2 separate regions of the Homo sapiens genome follow, and region 2 is linked to region 1. Evidence: promoter capture Hi-C in 16 types of primary human blood cells and fetal thymus (Javierre and others, 2016). All regions are on one chromosome and are shown on one strand. The core of a region is centred on a gene start or on the middle of the fragment in contact, and the rest is flanking DNA. Distances in the headings are between cores, read along the strand shown. Region 1 holds the start of FAM210B (family with sequence similarity 210 member B). Region 2 overlaps RAE1 (ribonucleic acid export 1).

Evidence for each region. Contacts are between HindIII fragments. The CHiCAGO score rates a contact against its expected background, and 5 or more counts as called.
Region 2: a fragment that was not itself captured here is called in contact with the fragment with the promoter of FAM210B in region 1 in 1 of 17 cell types (naive CD8 T cells); the score reaches 5.3 in naive CD8 T cells.

What each region holds. Positions count from the first base shown.
Region 1 is chr20:56,355,916-56,360,700 of GRCh38, forward strand. It overlaps FAM210B (family with sequence similarity 210 member B), which reads left to right and starts at 3,059. Exons shown (of 3, transcript NM_080821.3): 1 at 3,059-3,276. The coding sequence starts at 3,091. RefSeq lists a silencer at 2,736-3,335. The HindIII fragment of the contact is 7,749 bases long and covers 437-4,785 here.
Region 2 is chr20:57,352,373-57,357,452 of GRCh38, forward strand. RAE1 (ribonucleic acid export 1) reads left to right here. Exons shown (of 12, transcript NM_003610.4): 2 at 1,660-1,756; 3 at 2,340-2,444; 4 at 4,074-4,166. The coding sequence starts at 1,667. It also overlaps the pseudogene MTND1P9. Among named protein-coding and RNA genes, the nearest start is that of RAE1, 3.7 kb to the left of the region's middle. The HindIII fragment of the contact is 1,499 bases long and covers 1,859-3,357 here.

The DNA of each region.
Region 1 (4,785 bases), core at 1,809-4,308:
CTTTGAGGAATTTATTACACAGGCATACTTAAACACGGCAAGTGACAGAAATACCCGCTGGTTCATCACAGCATGGTTTATGATCACAAGGACTGGAAAATACCCTAAATACCCTAATGGTCCACCCACAAGGGATTGGTTAAAGCATTACAGCACCCTGGAATACACTGGAATGCTAAGCAGATTTTAAGAATAAGGAAGATTTTTGTGTACATATTCAGAAAACTCTAAAATATAATGGAAGCAAAAAAAGTCCAGGTGAAGAACACTGTGTATACTATGCCCCACTTGGGTAAAAACAGCAATGAAAACCGTTCATAGGAATTTGCCTGCACACATGTAAAATTTTCTAGAAGGATATGCACAAGCAACGGGTAACAGTGTTTGTCTCTAGGGAGAAAAAAATGAGGAGAACTGGTCACTGGGATAGGAAGGAAGCTTGTCATTGTGTAGACTTTTTGTACCTTTAAAAATCTGAACCGTGAGAACACATTATCTATTCATGAAAATGAAGAAATTAAAATAAATATAGTTCATGCATGAGCTGCTGCTCTAGAGAGACAAAGAGAGCTGACACAATAAGAAAAAAACAAAACTGTCACAAGTTCAGGCAGGCAGCAGCTCCAATACATTTTGTTAAAAGCAAAAGTTTCTTCACTTTTAGAAGAAGAAAAAAAGAACCTAAAGTCTATAATTACAGTATTATATTTACTGTCAAATTTAAAGGGAAAAACAAAATTACCTTTTTCTCTTCTCTAATAAGCATATAGCATGAATCACAAACTCAACTGCCCATGAAGCCTGGGCAGGAAACTTAAATGAATGAAGAAGGCCTGGTGACAAGAAAATCACGGGCGCTTTGGGAGGCCGAGGCAGGAGGATCACGAGGTCAGGAGATCGAGACCATCCTGGCTAACATAGTGAAACCCCGTCTCTACTAAAAATACAAAAAATTAGCCAGGCGTGGTGGCGGGCGCCTGTAGTCCCAGCTACTTGGGAGGCTGAGGCAGGAGAATGGCATGAACCCGGGAGGCTGAGGTTGCAGTGAGCTGAGACCGCGCCACTGCACTCCAGCCTGGGCGACAAAGCGAGACTCCATCTCCAAAAAAAAAAAAAAAAGAAAGAAAATCATGGGAACCATGAGGAAGTCGAGATCAGATGCCATCTGGAGGTGGCACTGTCACCGGGTGACAGAGGGGCTTCAGGCAAGGCATCTCTACAACATCCCAGCTAACGTGTGTGCCCTCTCTGTGCACCAGGCACTGAGTGAAGCCCTTTCCAAGAACTGTGTCAAAGAATTATCTCAACAATCTCATGGGGGAAACTATTATTATCTTCATTTTACACATGAAAAGACCAAGGCTCAGAGAAGTTGAGTCACTACTTCCAAATCACACAGCTGGACTTCTAGGGCCAACCTGACAGACAATCTGCACCCTTAAGCACTCTTCCCCAGCTTCTTGCAGACACTTAAATGGAAGGATTCCCATCCAGGGGCACTTTAGGACCTCCCTCCAACAGACCCTGTTACTTTCACAGCTATAACTCCATCTTATGTAATAAATATTTTTTAATGCATATGTGTTTAATATCATTTCTGTGCCTGTGTAAGAGCTTGGTTGAGTTGAATTGCAGTTGACTAATAGAATATTACATCTTTTGTAAAATATATTTCTTTTTCTTTTTCTAGAGAGACAGGGTCTCGCTCTGTCACCCAGGCTGGAGTGCAGTAGCACCATCGTGGCTCCCTGAAACCTGGACCTCCTGAGCTCAAGCAATTCTGCGTCAGCCTCCCGAGTAGTTGGGACTACAGGTGCATGCCACCACACCAGGCTAATTTATTTTTATTTTTGTAGTGACAGGGTTTCGCTATGTTGCTCAGGCTGGTCTTGAACTCCTGAGCTCAAGTAATCCTCCCACCTCAGCCTCCCAACGTGCTTGGATTATAGGCATGAGCCATTCCACCCAGCCAGAACATCTTTATTGAAGTATAATTTACACAGCATAAAATTCATCCATGTTAAGTGTACAGTCCCACGAGTTTTAGTTACACAGCTGTCACCATCCCTACAATCTGGGTTTAGGATCCTTCCCTCACCCCAAGACGTTCCTCCCACTCCTTGGCAGTCAATCTCATTTCCCACTCCCAGCCCTAGGCCACCACGGATCTGTTTTAGGTCTCTGTGATTTTGCCTATTCTGGGCACTTCATGTAGCTGGAATCCTCCAGTGTGTGACTTTTGTGCCTAGATTTTTTCAATTGGCATAAGAGCTTTGAGATTCATTTATGTTGTGCATGTATCAGTAGTCTGTTCCCTTTAATTGTTGCATTGCGTCCCATTGAAGACTTGTGCCACAGTACGTCCCAGTTTATGGGCATTCCTAATTGTTGACTAATATTTATAAGATCTCTACAAACATTGGTGTCTTCACATTTTAGTCTTTGAGTGTCGAGCCTTTGTTTCTCTTGAGAAGCTACCGAGGAGTGGAGTTGCTGGGTTGTATGGTTAGTGTATGTCTAACTTTTCAAGAAACTGCCACACCATCTTTCGCTTTACATTCACGCCAACAATCTATGAGGGTCAGAGGACTTTTTATTAAACATGTACTAATATCAATTCTCATATTTATTTTCTTCTTTGGAGCTAACACGTAAACATATCTATAATTTTTTTTCAGATTTCACCCATTTCTGCAGGGAGAAAAGCTCATAAGCCACGGCCCTACGCCCACCTTTGTGCCCGCAGAATAAGGAAACCCGCCAACTACACACCACAGTTAGAAAGCCCAAGACCCTGAAAAGACCTGCACCCACCCCCAAAGGGGCGGGGCTGGTGGGCGGAGAGGAGGCGGGGCGCGCTCCTTCAGCCCCGCCCACCAGCCCTGGACTCCGGCTCCCGAGGAGCGGAGCTAGCGGGTGAGCCAAGGGGATGTGCACAGGCCTCCTCAGTCCCGCCCAGCGCGCGCGCGCGGCGGCGAAGCCGGCGGGCGGGGCCGGGGAGGGCCCTCGCCGGGTCAGCTCCGCCCACCCTCCCCGGCCTCCGCCCGCCTCCCGGGTCAGCGGCGCGGGTGCTGCGCCTAGCTGCGCACCATGGCCGGGTTGCTGGCGTTGCTGGGTCCGGCAGGCAGGGTGGGCGCCCGGGTCCGGCCTCGCGCCACCTGGCTCCTGGGCGCCACCGCCCCCTGCGCCCCGCCGCCCCTGGCCCTGGCCCTGCTCCCGCCCAGGCTAGACGCCCGGCTGCTCCGCACGGCGCGCGGGGACTGCCGCGGCCACCAGGTAAGCACCCCACCCCGACCCTGATCCCGGGCGGTGTCCAGGTCCCCAGACGTCCGCAGGGCCGCGCCGGGGTCCGGCCGCCTCCGCCAAGGACGCCTTTGCACTTGTAGCTGCCCGGGACCGAGCTCTTCCAGGGTCCCCGAAACCCCAAATCCCTGCAAGCCAAGGAAGCGATCCTCCTAGTTGACAGCCAGAGAAACTGAGGCTCGGGAAGGTGTGGCGCTCTGCCCAAGGTCGCGCAGTCTTCGGCCGAGCCCCGGGTCTGCAGAGCCTCAGCCAGGCTGGGGCGCAGCCGACTGACTTGGTCTGAACTTCCACACGTTGCCTGCGGAGTTGTTGTCCAGGCCTTCTGGCTGGGTCTCGCTGTGTTTTGAACACCTCCCGACGCTCGCTGCTCCTCCCTTTTCTTCTGAGTGGAAGAGCAGGCGTCCTCAGGGAAGCCGCGGGCAAGAAACCCACAGTGCTGTTTGTTATGTTTCATTTCCGTCACTTTCCATTGGTGCTAAGTGAAAACTGGTTTTCCTTCAGAGCAGTCATACCAGCTTTCCTTTCAAGAAATCTATCACTTTCTTCCAAGTGAGTCTTTTTAAATAAAAATAGTAGTAAATGAAGTCTGGCGGTCCAGGAATGGCAAGCCCAGACACGCGGAGCCGGCGTCCAGCCCGGAGCGCATCCGGCCTGGCAGTCTGGAGCCTCTTTGTTTGCCTGGGTGCAGACAGGGCCCCTCCATTCATCGCCCGGTGACCTCAGACCGAGTCCTGAAGGCTTTTGAGCTTGTTTTCTGACCTTTAGAGGGCCAAAAATAGCACCTTCCCAGCAAGAGTTTGGGAGACAACTCCATGAGCTGGTGCAGGCCTCAGCGGAGTGCCGCCGGCCCAGCGAACATCTCCTGACCGTTTCCTAGCTTTTCAGTAAGGAGCGGATGGGGATTGGACCCAGGCTTTCATCATGCCTCCTGCCCAGATCAACTTCCTTCCTTGCCTTCTCCAGTCCGACAGGTGGCACACAGGTCTTGGGGATCCTCTCCAGAGTGGCACCTTCTGCACACACCGTGCCGCCTCCTGATGATTCTTCAGGGCCCAGCCCAGCTGTTCCTTCCTCCGGGAAGCCCTCTCTAACGACCTGTGAGGTCTCGGATGCCTCCACTGGGCCTGCTTCCACCCCATGGCTGTGGGTCTTCTCTGCACTCATCTGGAATGGCCTCTTGTCCTGCCTGTCAGCCACATTGACCTTGTCCCCAGCTCAGGCCCTGGCACTGGAGCGGTGTGTGTGTATACAGTGGCAAAGAGTTGGCCTCAGACTCCCTGGATTCCTCTCTCTACTCACTTGTTGTTGACTTTGATCAAATTCCCTTCTCTCTATCTCAGGCCCCTCATCTGTAAAATGGGACGTTAATAATTCAGACTTCATAGAATATGAATGTAAAATGAGATATGTTCATACCTGGCATCTGGTGTGTCCTAAATTAAGGTTAGAAATGACTATAATTGCAGTAAATATATACAGTCA
Region 2 (5,080 bases), core at 1,358-3,857, 1.0 Mb after region 1:
CACTAGGTTTGCTCCAAGGCAGGGATGAGCTTGTTGTGTTCAGCGGAGAAAGGAAGCCAGCAGAGCTAGGAGGGCTGGGGTGCAGCAAGGCGGGAGAGAGCGGGAAGAGATTAGGTGGGTCCCACAGATGACTGTGCCTTCTGAACTTTGGAAGCTTCCCAGTGCTCAGCATAAGGTGTGGTCCACACTGACTAACACGAACGATTCTCACCTACCATGTTCTTTTTCCTAAGTTCATCCCTAATGGCAGAAATGTTCTCTCCCAACTTGAAGGTTGAGGTAGAGGAATAGAGTGAAAGTAATATTTATTAAGAACCTGTAGTGCTTTAGGCAGTGTGTGTGTGTGGCTTCATTTAGTTCTCATAACTCTGTGAAGTAGATATTAGTGTCTCTGTTTTACAGATGAGAAAATCAAGGTTAAGTGACCCGTCCAAAGCCGTGTAACCAGCACCTGGACTGATTGCAGAAGCCTTGTCATGCCTTTGTTCGTTCATACAGCCAACTGGTGTTTCAAGTACCTCTGCATTTGAGGGCAGAAGTGTGGCCGGCAAGGACCACATCCCCTCACGTTCACTAAAATGTACATGTGCTTGTAGCTGTTGCTCTGACCTTTTGTTCTGCACTTATTTTTCATGAAGCTGAGGAAACTCAAATGCCTTCCCCAAATTCCTTGCAGTTTCTCCGTTCTGTGTTGTCTTGTTAGCAAGGATGTCACTCAGCCATTTGGCTCCCTTTGGAGAGGTGACTGGTATGGAGGACTTTTCAGCGTAACAGGTAGTAGGATTGAAATGTGGTTTCAGTGTACGTAACTCCTCGGGGAGTTGGAAGGAAAAAAGAAGGGAAAAGTCGTTTATTGTACCCACTATGAACTAGATACTGCATTTTCTACATAATCTGATTTGATCCCCAGAGCAGCCCTGGAGAATGTGTTAATGTTCTCTATGTTTGCAGAGCAGGAAAATGAAGACTGGTGAGATTAGAGTCCCAACTCCTGAGTGGCAAGAGGCCCTGACCAAACCCTGGTGGGCCTGTTAGATTATGATATTCAAGAAAAAACCCAGGGTGGGAGAGGTTCTTGCTGGGTAAATGTCCAAAACACGATGCCCGACCTTTTTAAAACTTTTACGAAGAAATTGCTGATTCGCTTCCCGGACTGGTTGTTCTAGGTAGTTTCATGCGGATGCTGACCTAAACTAGAATGTAGAAATTAGTAGGAAAGTGAATGCCCACTAGGTGGAAACCTGAAAGCACGGGGACCTGCGATCTTGTTTACTGTTATATTCCTGCTGCGCAGCTCAGGGTCTCTATGTAAAAAATGAGTGAATTTATTTTCTAGCTGGTGCCTACAAAATAATCTGCAATGTATCCATACTGGTTTATTAATGGTAACAAATGAACCGTACTAATATGAGATAATAGGGGAAACTAGATATGGAGTGTATGGGAATTCTATCTTTACTATTTCTGGAAACCTAAAACTACTCTAAAATAGAAGGTTTATGTTTTGAAAGCACTCTGCTCATTGCGCTCTTGTCTGAAAAGTGAAGCCTGGCCTCAAGCCACTTTGAGTATTTCTCTTCTGCCAGTTAATTATCTTACCATTGCCTCTCAGTGATATTAAGAGAAAACCCATCCTTAACATTTTTCATTACTTTTTAGGTTCAAAATGAGCCTGTTTGGAACAACCTCAGGTTTTGGAACCAGTGGGACCAGCATGTTTGGCAGTGCAACTACAGACAATCACAATCCCATGAAGGTACCACGAAAAGCTTCCTGGGGCTTGTAGGAAGAGTTTGGGCAGAGTTTCTCCCATCAAGGACAGAACCCGAGATGACTTGGGAGCCTCCTTTAGGCTGAAAGCTTTGAAACTTTGTCTAACTCATGTTTCTGAAACACTGGAGCACAGAAAATGTGTCCCCGTACTTGTGTCCTGTTCTTCCTGGCCTGCCAGGTCTCCAGAATCACCCAAGGTGCAGATTCCGGTGCAGATTCCCAGGGCCTGGCCCAGCCAGGACTGTTGACTCAGAATTCCCATGGTTGGAGAGAGGGGATGGCAGGTGAAAACTGTGATCTAGCACTGTGGGGCCAGAGTGAACTGGTCATTTAGAAAACAAGACCATGGGCATTTCATTAGCAGCTGCTACTGCTAGTCCTGGTGGTGCTGGTACTTTCTCTAGCTTATTTTTTACTCCTGTCTTTGATCAAAGTAAGGAAAGGTCTAATTCAGTTAGTTCTTGTACACAAGGAAAGGCCACCGTGAGGTAATTAGTGAGAAAGAAAACAATTTGGAATGAAGTTGTGAGCGTGCATACATTTTAACATTGACTTTTTTCCCGCAGGATATTGAAGTAACATCATCTCCTGATGATAGCATTGGTTGTCTGTCTTTTAGCCCACCAACCTTGCCGGGGAACTTTCTTATTGCAGGATCATGGGCTAATGATGTAAGTGCTCCTTAAATACGTGTTCTAGAAATCATCTCTCTTTGTATGGCCAAGGTTAGCTTTAGCTCCGTTGTTTCCCAAGTAAATGAATCAGTTGGACTTATTTATGGCCTTTTTTGAGAAATCAATTTAGGGGGTGTGAACCCTTCTGAATGGCAGACATTATTCTTACACCCGTTTTTGTTAGGAAAGCACAATCATATGTGTTGCTCGAAATTTTCTACTTTAGTTCAGTCTCTTGAAGTTTATTCCCAAATCAAATATCATATTCATCCAGAGTGAACATTATACCCAGTGGCACACACCAACAAATTCCCTTTCTTGGCATCCTGACAGTGTTCCTCAGGCATGTATGAAACTTTTTCAACGTTAAATAATAGCACAGATTTGCCTAGATACTTACTCATCATGTACAAAAAGAAAGACAAAAAAATTACAGTTTACTAAAAGAAAGAAAACTCTGGTAGAAAAATAAGCAAAGGGTGTAAAGAGGGACTTCACAAAAGAAAGAATAAACCTGAACCATTCATCCATGCTTGTAATCAGATAAATGCAAATTTAAGACTTTTTTTTATTAAATTAACAAAATTAAAAGTTTAAAAGAATAATAGTGCCAGCAAGGATAAGCTGAAACCCTGCATGTATGGCTGGTAGGTATGTAAGTTGGCTTTTCCACAGGATAATTGGCAATAGTTATCAAAAATCCTTCAGCTTATACCCTTTATCTCACTGATACCCTTCTGGGACTTGAGTAGGAAATCTGATAATGTACTTCATCTGCATTATCTAAATTAACCTTTATAACAGCCAAAGCACTGTGAACTTGTGAAAATTTTGAAAATTTTAATATCCAGTAGTAATGGCAATGTATAGTATGTTTGTATGATGGAATACCATTGTAAGTTTTTGGAAAAGCTTTTGAACTGTAGCCTACAGCACAGGGGCAGCAGGGGTTAGGAGAACAGGAGGGAGGATGGTAGTCAAGGTTGAGCAAGCTTGCTTTCTACATGTAATTTTTAGAAAGATTTCAGATTATTTGCTGCTTAAAAAAAGGATGTTTCAAGTTGAACAGGCTAGTGATGCAGGTGAGGAAAGCTGTAGCTGCAAAAGTGAAGACACTGTATAATCTAGTGTCTTCCAGAAAATATGCGTACATGGAAAGAAGACTAAGAGCACACAGAACCATTAGCTGTGGTTGTCTGTGGTGTGATTAGGGTGATTTTTATTTTTTTGCCATATTTACAAAATCTCTAAAATGTATTACTTTTTTAACGGAGGGGAGATTATATAAAGTATTCAGAAAAGAGGTAAGTTTCTACTTTGGTCTTGATTCTCTGAATGGTAATGGGTAAGTGATATTCTACTTTAAAAGACATATCTCATAGATGCATTGAGAAAATTATCTGCAATTTTATGTGTAAGCAATAGAATTTGTTTATTTTAATAGCTTAGGCGAAGAAAACAGTTGCTTTCATAGATATTTTAATTCCTTTGTTCTTGAAGTTAGATAATTAGGTTGCTATGAGAAGTCTATGTATGGTTAAGGTGTACCCCATTAGTTTTTAGGTGTTAAATGCAAGCAATACATCGTAATTGCTTTGTTTGCATTGAATTTTTTTGTTACTACAGGTTCGCTGCTGGGAAGTTCAAGACAGTGGACAGACCATTCCAAAAGCCCAGCAGATGCACACTGGGCCTGTGCTTGATGTCTGCTGGAGTGACGTACGTTCCCTTCCATTTCTCGTGTTCCATTTTACTTAAAGTACAGAATGATTTAGAATATTTAATAATCCAAACACAAATAGCATATATGTGTTCATATTGTAGGAATTCTAAGTTTCTGAACATAAATATAGTCATTTATTGATGTTCTTAATGTTGGCTTTAGTTAGCCACTTTCTTTGAAAGCTTTTCTTGTATTAAATTTTGTGTGTGTGATTGAGGAGAGTTTAATGATTAAGGGATAATTTATGAAGAAGCCAGCAGGGAAGGTGAAACACCGGTGCCAAGCTGCAGTGGGCGGGCCTCCTGGAGCACAGCATGAGCTGCAGCTGTAGAGGGGCTTCCACCTGGCGCGGGAGAGCCAGGGGATGAACAGCTGTAGACGGGCCTCGGCCTGGCGAGGGGAGCCAGGGGTTGAACACCCCAGCCTCTCTCCTCCCTTCTCCTGCCATTGCTGCTGGTGGCTGAACCCAACAGTAGTGAGAATGTTAAGGGGCCTGGTGACAGGCAGACACACTGCAGTGCTGAAGAAGCTAAGCCTTGAGGCCCCTTCCGAGGCCTTGTACCTGTTCCTTTAGTCAGGTTTATTGAGTCTGATTTGCCTGCTGTAAAACTGAACCTTTTTGGTATACAGCTCTGTGAGTGTTAAGAAATGCATAGAGTTGTGTTCTAGATATAGAACAGATCCATCGGCCTCCAAATTCTCTTCCTTCCTTTTGTCGTCAAATCCTTCCCAGCTCGCAGCCCCTGGAAACTACTCATCTGTTTTTTTTGTCCCTATAGTTTTGCTTTTACAAGAGTATCATCTAAATAAATCCTATAGGGTGCAACCTTTGCGCTCAGCATGTTGCATTAACGTATGGTGATTGTTTTGTCAGATATATTTCCTATGTTTGGGGTGGGATGCTGGAAAT